2 separate regions of the Homo sapiens genome follow, and region 1 is linked to region 2. The links are contacts of gene promoters, found by promoter capture Hi-C in blood cells and fetal thymus (Javierre and others, 2016). All regions are on one chromosome and are shown on one strand. The core of a region is centred on a gene start or on the middle of the fragment in contact, and the rest is flanking DNA. Distances in the headings are between cores, read along the strand shown.

What was found. The method cuts DNA at HindIII sites, captures the fragments that hold promoters and counts their contacts. A CHiCAGO score of 5 or more calls a contact.
Region 1: a fragment that was not itself captured here is called in contact with the fragment with the promoter of RPF1 in region 2 in 1 of 17 cell types (neutrophils); the score reaches 13.6 in neutrophils.

Annotation. Positions count from the first base shown.
Region 1 is chr1:84,606,006-84,612,503 of GRCh38, forward strand. All of the region lies in intron 2 of LINC01461 (long intergenic non-protein coding RNA 1461), which reads right to left. Among named protein-coding and RNA genes, the nearest start is that of LINC01461, 12 kb to the right of the region's middle. The HindIII fragment of the contact is 3,735 bases long and covers 1,748-5,482 here.
Region 2 is chr1:84,474,156-84,481,109 of GRCh38, forward strand. RPF1 (ribosome production factor 1 homolog) reads left to right here and starts at 5,111. Exons shown (of 9, transcript NM_025065.7): 1 at 5,111-5,354; 2 at 6,801-6,857. The coding sequence starts at 5,127. RefSeq lists enhancers at 4,772-5,332, 5,528-5,687. The HindIII fragment of the contact is 6,088 bases long and covers 1,281-6,954 here.

The sequences.
Region 1 (6,498 bases), core at 2,365-4,864, 130 kb after region 2:
TGCCAGATGGAAGGGGCACCATTAAGGTACTTATTCCCTTCTCATTGCAGGACCTTAGGCAGATAAATGGGCTGATTTCTTGATAACCCTAATAGATATATAGAGGCCTTCCAAAATTTAACTTAAGTGTTTTACCTCACATGGAGGGATGTTGTGCTGTTGTTTCTCAGCCAAACCCTCACTGCAGCTGAAAAGCAGACAGCTCTGCAAGCAGCAGAAAAGTTCGGAGATGAACAACATGTTCCCTATAGTGACCAAAAAGGAAAAGGGGAGATAAGGAAGGTGAGGAAATAACAGAAAAAAACAATCTCAATAGGGAGAGAGGCTATACCTCTTGACAATCCTGACTGGAATCCCTGTGACCCCATAGATGAATGGAAAAGGAAATACTTTTTAATGTGCATATCAGAGGGCCTAAGAAGGACTAGGACCAAACCTCTTAATTACTCTAAACTGTCCTTATTGAATCAGAAACCAGATAAAAATCTCCCTACCTTTTTGGAAAGGCTGAGAGAAGCTTTAATAAAACACACCTCCCTGTCTTCCAATTCAACAAAAAACAGGTTCATCACTCAGGCAGCCCCTGATATCAAAAGGAAGTTGCTGAAACAGGCCATGTCTAAAAATCTTTCTAGTTTTTCTCACTCTCAAGTTGAAACTTTGCAGTATGTAAATGACACTCTCCTCTGTGCCCCATTCAAGGATGTCTCAGGAAGGCACTAAGACTCTTCTCAATTTCTTAGCTAAAAGGGAGTATAGGGTCTCAAAATCTAAAGCTCAGCTCTGTCAAACTTCAGTAAAGTACCTAGGCCTAATCTTATCAGAAGTGTGGGGGATCGGTCAGGGTGGTGAAAAAACTATAGGGAAAGGACACAAACCTTCTGAAAGGTCGGAAGTTTCTGCAGAGCCCCAGGGAAGAATGGCTGAAGACAGCTGTTCTATAACCCTAAGGCAGAGGGCAAGGAGTAGGTACAAGGGAGTGTGGGGGAATTTATCTTAAACCGGTTTGTTTACTTATGTTGACCAGGAACTGACCTTGGATCATCCCCATGCAACATTCCCTGAAAGGGGAACAATAAATGTTAATTACCTGCAGGTTGTGTTGGCTCCAGGTTTTCGGCATTGTGCCTGCACTGAATAAAAGCAAACAGCTCCAGCTTCTCGGGACTGCTGTCTGGCCACTGGAGCCAGGCAGTCACCTAGCTGCTCTTACACTGCATACCTGTGTCTGAGTACTCATTTCACCCATCGGCCAAGGTCTGTGGGACAGACACAGCACAGAAGGAACCAGAGTACCAGGTGAGGAAAGGATTAACCCCGTTTCCTTTAAGAGTTAAGAAAATTATTGGGCATTACTGAATTTTGCAAAATGTGGGCATTACTGAATTTTGCAAAATGTGGGCACCAGGGTATGGTGAAATAGCTCATCCTTTATACCAACTCTTAAAAGAAACTCAAGCAGCTCCCTAACTTGGGAACCTAAAACACAAAAGCCTTAAACCAGCTAAAGCAAGCCTTGCTTAAAGCACCAGTTCTCAGCCTTCCCATAGGGAAGGTATTTAATCTTTATGTATATTGGAAAGGAAGAAAATAGCCCTGGGAGTTTTGACTAAGACTGGAGGTCCAGCTCTACAGCCAATGGGTTAACAATGGGGAATAACTTAACTGTTTAGCTCCACGCAATATAACAAGACTACTGTCCTCTAAGGAAAGTCTGGCTAACAGACAATTGCCTCCTCAAATATCAAGCTTTGCTGCTAAAGGGATCTGCAGTCCAGTTGAAAACCTGCCACTTCCTGAGCCCAGCCACTTTCTCCCAGAGAAAACTGGAGAACCTAAACATGATTGTGAACAAGTAGTGGTGCAAACTGGGGGAAAAATGGTAAGAATCACTGTTTATCTTCACTGTAAAGTTTTATTTGTGAAAAAGGATTTTCCTAAAGAGCACTCAGCTTAATTCAAAGTGGATATCAAACCTATGGGTATATTTTAAAGGCCTTTATGTTTTTCTCTTTATAGATCTTGTTTTCCTGGAAAAGGTCTTTTTTTCTCAGTCAACTGAGAAAACTGTGACTTACCACTCTTGGTGCATGCATGAAAGACCCTAGAATGACTTCTGGTAGCCTGGGACTCCTTGGGAAAACAGAAAAGGTGCCACAAATCCCATTTTGGGAAAAATCTGTTTTCCTCATGGAACACCTGGAATTAAAGGTGAATAAGTAGTTCTCAAAATCTATCTTTGTCTTCCAGCTTTGCTTGTTTATTAGGCCCTGGAAACTGTATTCCTAGCCCTGTTCTTAAAGGGTCTCACCAGGAGGCTAATAATCCAATTGGGAAATTAGCAAATGAAAAATTTTAGAACCACTGGATCTTTTTCTGTTTGTCTGTGTGGTTATATATGTGTTATGTGTGTAATGTCTATTTGAAAAGAGCTCCAATTAATTGGACTAAGAAAAATAAGCACTTAAATAAAGTATTTTTAAAGAAAAAGTAAAAGCTGTGGTACCTTTCAGTTCACACAACTTTAATCTTCAAAAATAAAAACAGTCTTAGAAACTATTGGTAAAATACAAATGTCTTCAGGATGTAAAAATGTGATCTAAATTATGCAGGTCAGATACTAGGTTTGATAAATGTTTTAAGGTTGTAACTGCTTTTTTAGCCTTTAAATATTGTCTACTTGCCTGCTTCACAATTGGTAAGGCCTGGGAACATATGGAAGTAACCATGCCCCTAATGATGCTGAAAGCAGTCAAACTTTATCTGCATCTAGCACATAATTAAAACAACCTACCAGGTTTTACATCAAAGTTAAAAATTGCTAAGTGTTACCATTATGACATGTAATGAGACTAGTGAACATGGATTTGCATGCAAGGTGTGTAAAAAAACAGTAAAAGCTGTTTTTAATTAAAGATAAGAAGGCATGAAAATGTACATTTTGCCTAGCCATAAAGGATTGTCTTAAATAAAATAAAGCAGAAGGTTTAAGCAAATTGTAAAAAGATTGTAAAAACTAATCTTGCAAAGGAAACTCTGTGTATGAACATATTAACTAATTTCAAAGGGGTATTATATAGTTTTATAAATTAAGGATTAAAATGCAAGCACAGGGTTTTCTTAAAATGCTGATCTACTCTTTAGCAAAATTTGTAGAGGGTCATAAAAGGTTTGTGTAAATCTCACCTCATGGTCAAACTGGTTAAGATTGAATAGGATTGTCTATAAAGTTTCATTAAAAATCAGGGTTAACATTAATAGCAAACAAATGCAAGGGTGAAATTTAACATTCTCTCTTGAATAGGATTTTCATGTAATAGAAAGGGCTGATGAATGGTTTTTGCTTTTTCAAATTTTTGACTCATAATTTTGGCAAAACAAAAAACTTACAGTAATCTAATATCAAGTGTTTTAAATTTTGAACATATTTAACAGGCTTCCCAAAATCAAACTTTAGTTTCAAGGTTGTCTTTCCTAGCCCCTAGCTTTTTGTTCTGCACAGGGCTCCTAGAACATCCAGAAGAGAGGTAAATAGGATTATTTAACTTGTTTAGGTACATGGAATTGCCAAAATGATGTCTAATACTCTTCAGGTTATATTTTAGGGAATAATATTAACATATGTTCCAAAACTGTATGGAATGTCTAAGGTACTAGTGTCTGAATAATACGCGCTATTAATCACAATTAAGGTTGTTATGTTAGGTTATTGTAAGCCACAGAAACAACCAAATTTGTCAATCATGTTCTTGACTGTAACCACCCTGGACATTTTGTCATTTACAAACAATTGTTGTCTTGTTTGAATCTTTTTCTTAAAAAAAATAGTTTCTAATCAGCTGTGGAACTTACATAGGTGCTCTTAAATGCAGGTTTTTGATTAAAAAATGTATAGGACTCATACAAAGCTGAAATGTTTATGAATAACAAGCAGATCAAGAGTTAATGGAATGGGCTGAACTAATAGAAAACTAAAGCAATATTCTTGATTTATGCTTGTAACACTGGTGATCCTTATTTTGTTTTTCAGAGTCAAGGAAATTTTCTTAAAAGCCTTTAAGAACTAAGTAAACTATACTCCTGTAAACAATGTTTGGAGCATGTTTGTTTCTCTCTGCCTAGTTCTTCTAGAATTTGGAAACTAGTTATAAGTATTCTTGAATTACAACTATATAGTTATTTGCATCAGTGCAACAAGAATCCATTTTCTTTTGCAACAAAACACAATTGGAAAAACTGATTGTTTTACCAAGGCTTTGACTTCAAGGCTTTGACTTGCAGAGCCAATGAAAGCCCTTTGGGAAAACTGGCTGCATACCTTGTCTACACAGTCTCTGTACAGTGTTCCTGACCTGTGGTGCGTAAAGAATGTCACTTTCTAACAGGCCCGGAAACCCCATGCTCCTGGAACCTCAAGAAGAAAGAAGTTTATCCAACTCACAGGTATTTGAGGGTACAAACTCATGGCTGGGCTTGGCTTCAAAAAGTCCTATCCAAGATTCCTTGTGGAACAGAGTTCTATCAAAACCAATCAAAATACACAGAGGTAATTATTCTTGCTGTACTTTTTGCAGATAATCAGGCCAAGTATAGGACTAAAGTTTATTCTGCAACCAGCTCAGTCCTATCATAAGTTGTTTTTCATAAAAATGAGAACTGGAGAGAGAAATTATGTTCCACACTTACTGTACATCTGTGATATAGTTTGGCTCTATGTCCCCACCCAAATCTCATCTTGAATTGTACTCCCAGAATTGTGGGAAGGACCCAGTGGGAGATAATTGAATCATGGGGGCAGTTTCACCCATACTGTTCTCATGGTAGATAAGTCTCATGAGATCTGATGGTTTGATAAAGGGAAACCTGTTTTGCTTAGCTCTCATTTCTCTCTTGCCACCACCATGTAAGACATGCCTTTTGCCTTCCACCATGATTGTGAGGCCTTCCTATCCAAGTGGAACTGTAAGTCCATTAAACCTCCTTCTTTTGTAAATTGCCCAGTCTCAGGTATGTCTTTATCAGCAGCGTGAAAATGGACTAATACAATCTGTCATTGACTTCTAGTCTCATTAGTTGTTTGTAAGTTCTTGCCAACATTTTAAACTAATCATGCTTATTCCTGTAAACCAATCATCAATCTCCAGCTGTGGCTCAAAGGAGACAGAAAGGAATGGGTAATATAAAAATCTGGAACAATGTGCTAGTTCTGGGCACTTATGCTGCAAATCCTGCCAGGTAACCTATAACCCCAAGGTTTCCTTTTCTGGCGGGGACAGTAAGACCAAGGGAGCTAAACAAAGCCAAGCCCCATACACCCAGTTACAACAGCACAACCCATCTAAATGGCTCACAGATATCAAACAAACTCTGTTGTCATGGTTATGGCCTATAGTGCCTCACTAATAATGGTAGTCTTATATATATTTGGACCCTATATTCTAAACCTCCTTGTAAAGTTTCTCTTCTCACCTAGAAACCATCAAGCTTCAGATGGTGCTGCAAATGGAGCCAAAAAGGAAACCACCCTTCTACCAGGGACCCTTAGATCGACCCCAGGAGGAGCCCTAGATGCTGTTCCCGTACCACGCCCTCTCCAGCGGGAAGTAGCCAGAAGAAGTTGTTGCCCAATTCCCCCTAACAGCAGTTAGGGATTCCATTCCTGAGGGGGAAATATGTTATACAAGACAGACAGAATTTATTTAGGTAGACAGTTAGGGTAAAGCGAGTCCCCAGCAGAAACTTTTCTTCTAACAAAAAGCAGCTCAGAAATAGCTCTCTTTCTAACCTCATGCAGTTCAAAGAAATCACTTCTCTTCTAACAAAGAACAGCTTGAAAGATCAGGCTGTAAAAACAAACAACTCGGGCACAGAAGGACAGGGGGAGTCCCCTGGGTAATCACCAAACTTCACACTCCTACAATGGACCCCAGTAAAAACCGTGGGCCTTAATAAGCACATTCCTTTCCCTTTAAGCACACTAAGATAGAGAAACTAAAAGCGGATTGTGGGGAGATGCCTGCAGCTGCAGGAAGATGTCTGGGAACAGACACAGAAACTCTCCCTCCCAGATAAGCAAAACAAAGCAGCACAAAGCAGCAAGGACTGAGTCTGCCTATGTGATCAAGGAAATGAGGTAAGAACTGATAGAAAACTCTGCTCTATGCACATAGGACACCTGGTCCCAACTAAATCTTCAGGCCTTAGGAAGATAAGACACTCCCTCTTTTTTTTCTTTTTTTTTTTTAAGAGAGAGTTGCTCTGTCGCCAGGCTGGAGTGCAGTGGCATGATCTTGGCTCACTGCAACCTCCGCCTCCCAGGTTCAAGCAATTCTCCTGCCTCAGCCTTCCGAGTAGCTGGGACTACAGGTACGCACCACCACACCCAGCTAATTTTTGTATTTTTAGTAGAGACAGGGTTTCACCATGTTGGCCAGGATGGTCTCGATCTCTTGACCTCGTGATCTGCCCGCCTCAGCCTCCCAAAGTGCTAAGATTACA
Region 2 (6,954 bases), core at 3,861-6,360:
CGAGGTGGGTGGATCACGAAGTCAGGAGTTCGAGACCAGCCTGGCCAACATGGTGAAACCCTATCTCTACTAAAAATATAAAAATTAGCCAGTTGTGGTGGCACATGCCTGTAATCCCAGCTACTTGGGAGGCTGAGGCAGGAGAATCGCTTGAACCTGGGAGGCAGAGCTTGCAGTGAGCTGAGATCACGCCACTGCACTCCAGCCTGGGTGAAAGAGAGAGACTCTGTTTTATAAAATAAATTGTTTATTTCCAGAATTTTCCATTTAATATTTTGGACTGTAGTTGACTGAGGGCAACTTAAGGAAACTGTGGCTAACAGGGGACTACTGTATTTGGTTTTTTGCTATTGAATTGTATGAGTTCCTTATATATTTTGGATATTTACCCCTTATCAAATAATATGATTTGCAAATATTTTCTCCCATTCCATTGGTTGCTTTTTTTGTTGATTGTTTTTCCTTTGCTGTGCAGAAGTTTTTGGTTTGAAATAGTCCCATTTAGTTATTTTTGCTTTTATTACCTGTGTTTTGGTATCATATCCAGAAAACTATTGTCAAGATCAACGTCAAGGAGCTTTTTCTCTAGGTTTTCTTCTGGAACCTTTATAGTTTCAGGTCTTATGTTTAATTCTGTAATCCATTTTGAGTTGGTTTTTGTGTATTGTGTAAGAAGAAGGTCCAATTTCATTCTTTTGCATGTGGATTGTCAGTTTTCCCAACACTGTTTATTGAAGAGACTATCTTTTCTCCATTGCATATTCTTGGCACCCTTGTTGAAGATTAGTTGACCCTAGGGTTTCTTTCTGGGCTCTCTATTCTGTTTTATCAGTCTATGTGTCTATTTCAAAGGAGAGCTGACATTGTGAGAATCTAATTGACACTATGAATCCCTGTAATAACATTTCAACATACTTCCTGGGTCAGTAAATCCTGAGAAACAAACCTTGTTAGTCATTAAGATAACTTAAATAATACAATAAACAAAAAAAAGAACTCTCAGAACTTCTTAGGATAAGTGGTTTAAATGCCAACAATAGCTCTTGGGTACTACTGAAGCATCCACAGATGAGAGGTTAGTTCTATAATAGTTCTGTTATTCCCACCAGTAGAGTGTAGGGCATAATTCAAGTCAGGAAGCTTTAATTTACTTTATGTTTGTCAAAGGCCTATACAACATTGTAAATAAAAAATGTGCCAACAACCAAATTGGTTATTCCTTATTCTGATGCAATGGATTCATATTTTGTGCCTTCGGAATGGGTTTCTGTGATGTAAAAAGCTTAAGTCATACTGTAAAATAATAGGTCAAATTTTCTGAAGAGAATCTTGATTTGGATCACTGAACTCACCTGGTGCCTAAGAGTTGTATTCCAGCGTGCCCCAAATGTCAGAATCAAAACAAATAGGCAAAAATTGTATTAAGTATTAAAAGTAAGTGCTTTATTTTAAAATAACATATACTCTATTGGAAGTGGGCCTGGAAAATAATGGGCAATGAAAGAATTGGTGAGAGAAAGTGAACGGCTGAAATGAACCTCGTAAAGCACTCTACAGTGACCTCTATTCTTGTGTTTCATCTTCTTCTAAAATTGTACACTACTTAATGGCAAACATGATGCCTTTTTCTTCCACACTAGTTAGAACAGTCTCTGACACCAATAAATGGTAAAAATAGCTAGCTAGCATTTATTGAGTGTGTCTGGTTCTTTAATATACATCTTTACTCCTCTCTATACATCCTATGTGGCAGTATAATTAGCCCCAGTTTACAGACAAATTGAGACCCACAGACATTTTATGATTTAACTGAGATTTTATAGCATCTAAGTGATTGAGCCAAGATCTGAACACAACCCACCCTATTCATTTACAGAGTAGCATTTAATACATATTTGTTGAATTAATCAATGTTTTTGTGACTTAAGAATAAGGACTTATTCTGATTATAGAAATCCTTTCATTCAACTCATACAATTGTTATTATAAATACGGCATGAAGAAAAAAAAAGGAAGTCTAAGTTAAGGAGTTAATGATCTCATTTGTATGGTGCTTCTAAATAAATTTAACACTGTTATCTAAATCTATTTCAAAACTATTTTGTATTCTTATGAGAAAAGGAAATATTATATGTAGGGAGATAAAACGTTACAGTTAGAAGAGACTTTCAAAATATTTTCTCAGTCTGTATTTCCAGGATGGAGATTTACTTATTCCCCTTCTTCTTCTTCTCCCCCTCCTCTTGTTCTTTTATTTATTTATTTATTTATTTATTTATTTATTTATTTATTTTTAAGACAGGGTCCTTCTGTCACCCAGGCTGGAGTGCAGTGATGCAATCACAGCTCACTGCAACCTTGAATTCCTGGGCTTAAGCTATTCTCCCACCTTGGCCTATCAAAGTGTTGGGATTACAGGCATGAGCCACAGCCCCAGGACTACTCTTCCTTTTTGACTTGATTACCCCCCTTTAAATAAACTATATATGAAATTTTATGGTTTTGGGGTTTTTTTTGTTTTGTTTTGTTTTTTGAGATGGAGTCTCACTCTGTCACCCAGGCTGGAGTACAATGGCACCATCTCAGCTCACTGCAACCTCCGCCTCCCAGGTTCAAGCAATTCTCCTGTCTCAGCCTCCTGAGTAGTTGGGATTACAGGCAACTGTCACCACATCCAGCGAATTTTTCTATTTTTAGTAGAGATGGGGTTTCACCATGTTGGCCAGGCTGGTCTCGAACTCCTGACCTCAAGTGATCCACCCACCTCAGCCTCCCAAAGTGCTGGGATTACAGGCATGAGCCACCATGTCCAGATAAATTTTATGATTTACTGCAGCCAAATCTATATGTCAGTGATTTTAAAACTCAATGCTATTTTTTTCCTTTTTTTGTATTATATAACTTAAATCCAATTTTGGATCTAAACATAATGATTTTAAGTTTTTTAACAACAATTTTCAATTTGTGATCTAATAGCAGGTTTGGATGGAGCTTGTGTTCTGGAAGACACAGTTTTGATGCTTTTAATATCCTGCTGTTGTTAAATAGAATTTGAATGGGTGAAAAATGAAATGTGGACAAAAACATATTGGATTCTCAAAACACGAAATATAGATATTGGTACATAAAATTTGAAATTAAGGCAGATTCTGGAAAACTGACTCCTAACAGTAAATCAAAAGGGATTTCTTGTTGCTATTTGGAAAGCATTTTCATAAAATTAGAATGAAGAATACAGCAAATTTAACCACTAGGAAAACACTTTCTTCACTTGCCTTCCATGACATTCTACTCTCTTGATTTTCTCTTCTCCTTCTCCTTTGCTGGGTCCTCCTTTTCTTTCCATCTCTTCATGCAGGACTCCTCCAGGGTTCAGTCCTTGATCTTCTTTTTTCAGTTTTCTATCTACACTCATTCTAATGGTTTGAAATACTACCTATGTGCCAATTACTTCCAAAGTTTGATCTTTAGCCCACACCTCTCTGTCCTGCTGCAGAATCATACATCCCAACTGACTAGTTGACACCACCAATCAGATCACTAAAAAGTATCTCAAACTTAACATTTCCAAAACTGAAATCTTGATCTTACCTCTCAGATTTGTTCCATCTGAACTTTCCCGCATTTCACCTGATGGTAACTCCATCCTTTGAATCACTCAGGTCGAAAGTCTTGGAGTCATCCTTGACTCTTTCATGTCCTCCCTTCAGTTCCATCAGTAACTTTACCTTCCAGAGGAATCACTTCTCAACCACCTACACAAGACTTACCCTGGTTCAGGCCACTATCATTTCTTCCCTTCTTCCACACACCCTGCCCCTGCATAGGCTCTTCTCAAAAGAAGATTCTGAATGACGCTTTTACTTTATTTTTATTTATTTTTTTGAGAGGGTCTCACCCTCTCACCCAGGCTGGAATGCAGTGGCACCAACATGGCTCATTGCAACCTAGCCTTCCAGGCTCAATGGATCCTACTGCCTCAGCCTCCTGAGTAGCTGGGACCACAGATGTACACCATGCCCAAACAGATATATATATTTTTTTACTTTTTGTAGACATGGGGTCTCACAGTGTTGCCAAAGCTGGTCTTGAACTCCCAGGCTCAAGCAATCCTCCTGCCTTGGCCTCCCAAAGTGCTAAAATTACAGGCATGGGCCACTGCACCAGCCTGATACTTTTAAGATGTTAAGATCATACCATTCTTTTCCTCAAAATTCTATAAGAGATCTTCATCTCACATAAAATAAAAGCCAAAGTCCTTACAAAACTCTACACCACCTGTCCAATCTCAACACTTCTTGCCTTTCCTGGCTTGCTACTGACTAGGAGCATTGGAGCTGGCTGTTTGCTTTGCCAGGACAGCTTTTCTCCTTGATAACCAGCTTTTCTCAGATTAACAGCTCTTCCCTCAGATAACTAGTTTAGCCCATTACCTCCTTCAAACCTTGGCTCAATGTAACGTTTTCAATGAAGCCTACTCTGAGAATCCTATTTAAAATTGCAACGTACTTTGGGAGTCCAGGGCGGACAGATCACCTGAAATCAAGAGTACAAGACCAGCCTGGCCAACATGGTGAAACTCCATCTCTGCAAAAATACAAAAATTAGCCGGGCATGGTGGCACGTGTTTGTAGTCCCAGCTACTCAGGAGGAGGAGTTTGCAGTGATCGGAGATCGTGCCACTGCACTCCAGCCTGGGCATTAAAGCAAGGCTCCGTCTCAAAAAGATGAATGTCTCTTCATCTTCTTTTATCCTGTTCTATTTTTTTTCCATACCATGTCTTACTCTGTAGCTCACCATAATTTATTTGTATGCTCATTTTAGGTTTCCCTCAAGTAAAACGTAAACTAATCCAGGCACGGTTTTTGTTGTTGTTCCATTATTTTGAGGGCTGGGCACATAGATGCGCAAGGAGTGCCCAAACTCATCATCTCACTCTTTATACAGCTGGGCAAACTGCCTAAAGTTTCCTCAAGCCTCAGCTTTACTATTTTCTTGAATGGCTAAAACTCACAAAACACATCTAGCGTCAAAAACTTTGCGACCCCGGAAGTAAAAGGTTAAGGAAGGGGGTCACAGGAGAAGGCTATTTCCGTTTCCGTACGGAAGCAAAGGAGCCAAGACCATGGCGAAAGCCGGGGATAAGAGCAGCAGCAGCGGGAAGAAAAGTCTAAAACGGAAAGCCGCTGCCGAAGAACTTCAGGAGGCTGCAGGCGCTGGGGATGGGGCGACGGAAAACGGGGTCCAACCCCCGAAAGCGGCTGCCTTTCCGCCAGGCTTTAGCATTTCGGAGATTAAAAACAAACAGCGGCGACACTTAATGTTCACGCGGTGGAAACAGCAGCAGCGGAAGGTACGCGAGAGGCGGGGGCTGCCGGGCGCTTGCGCGTTGTTCCTGACGCTTAGGGCGGTCGCGGGGCGCACATCTGTGGTTGTCTGCTGGTCTCAAAAGTGTTCTCTGTGGCTCCGTGGGAAGGGTGGCGTCGCGGCCCACGTGTTCTGGTCCCCTCGCCCTAGTTTGGAGACTCTAGGTTCAGCCTTTTGCCTGAGCGTCAAGGTGGAAGATTATCTTGATAGGCTCTTTCCTGGGACGCTAGATTCACAAGGAAAGCTGTAAGGCCAGTTGGCTTAGTAGTGAAAACTACGCCCTCCTGGCCCAGAAGGCAAAAGTCTCAGCCCTTTGGTCCGTCTAGGTAGCGTTGGTTAATTTGCAGAATCTGAAATGGAGGCAATACGTAATAAATCCAAAATACTGCTTCTCTGATTCCTGCAGGAGCTCCTTACCGAAATTAGTACTGTAAAGTTTCTGGTAATTGTATTTGTTCTTTTCAGCTTTATCCTTATACGTTTCTGGTAGGTAAACAAACTGAAACGTAAAGAGGTTTAAACGACTTGTCAAGGTCGCAGTGCTCATTTCTGGTTAAATTGCAATTGGAAGAAAACGTTTGCTTATTCTTGCACATCGTAGAAGTTCACACAATATTATTATTATGTGTCTGCCTCCTCTTACTGGCCCTTCTGAGGCCCGGGACTGGTTCTTACTCATGTTCAGTGTCAAGGTGCTGTTTCAATACATACAAGGGGCGTTTAACTCATTCTGGTATGCACGTATTGGGGAGGGATGTCCTGGAAGACTTATTGGAGCTATGATTTCTAATCTGAAACCTGGTGGATTGAGGATCAGTAGGTGCTGGGGAAAAAAGAATATTTTTTATTTTGTCAAGCATTCTATCTAGAAATCTCCAGAAGAATATATAGATTGACAATACAAATACAGATAATCTTAAGCCACCTTGCAAGCTCTTACTAAATTTTAGAAGTATATTTTGATTATAAAATATGTGAATAACTGGTGATGGTTTTATGGAAAACAACCTGAAAACTCAGCTCCCATTCCTATTTTTAGTGCTTTTCAAGAGAAGCAAGCAGCATAACCATGGTCGTCTTTAGGATGCCACCAGTTAGGCAAAACAAAACACAGTGGAAACCATCACATACTTTAATTAATTTGAGGCTTTATGGAAAAAGGTTAAGCTACTCAAATTTTAAATGTTCAAACTTGCCAGTTTAGATTTTTTTAAAGGAGCAGGTCTTTGTTAAAGAAATCTTATTGATTGGCCAGCTCATTTGGCTTACAGTAATTTAGGTAGAAAACTCCACGTCCAGATGCTTATTTCAATAGATTACAAAGACCGCCCAGTTCGAGTATTCATAGCATTAGTAATTTGTAGTTTCAGTATGTGTTTGTGATATAACTGGTTGTTTCTCAGTATTGTTCTCTTTTTTTTTAACCCTTTAGGAAAAGTTGGCAGCTAAGAAAAAACTTAAAAAAGAAAGAGAGGCTCTTGGCGATAAGGTAAATAAAATTTTTAGCTGTTTGCTTTCTATCTTATATTAGGGAATCCCTCCTGATATTTAAGTTGAATTACTTTCTTTTAAAATTTATTATTACG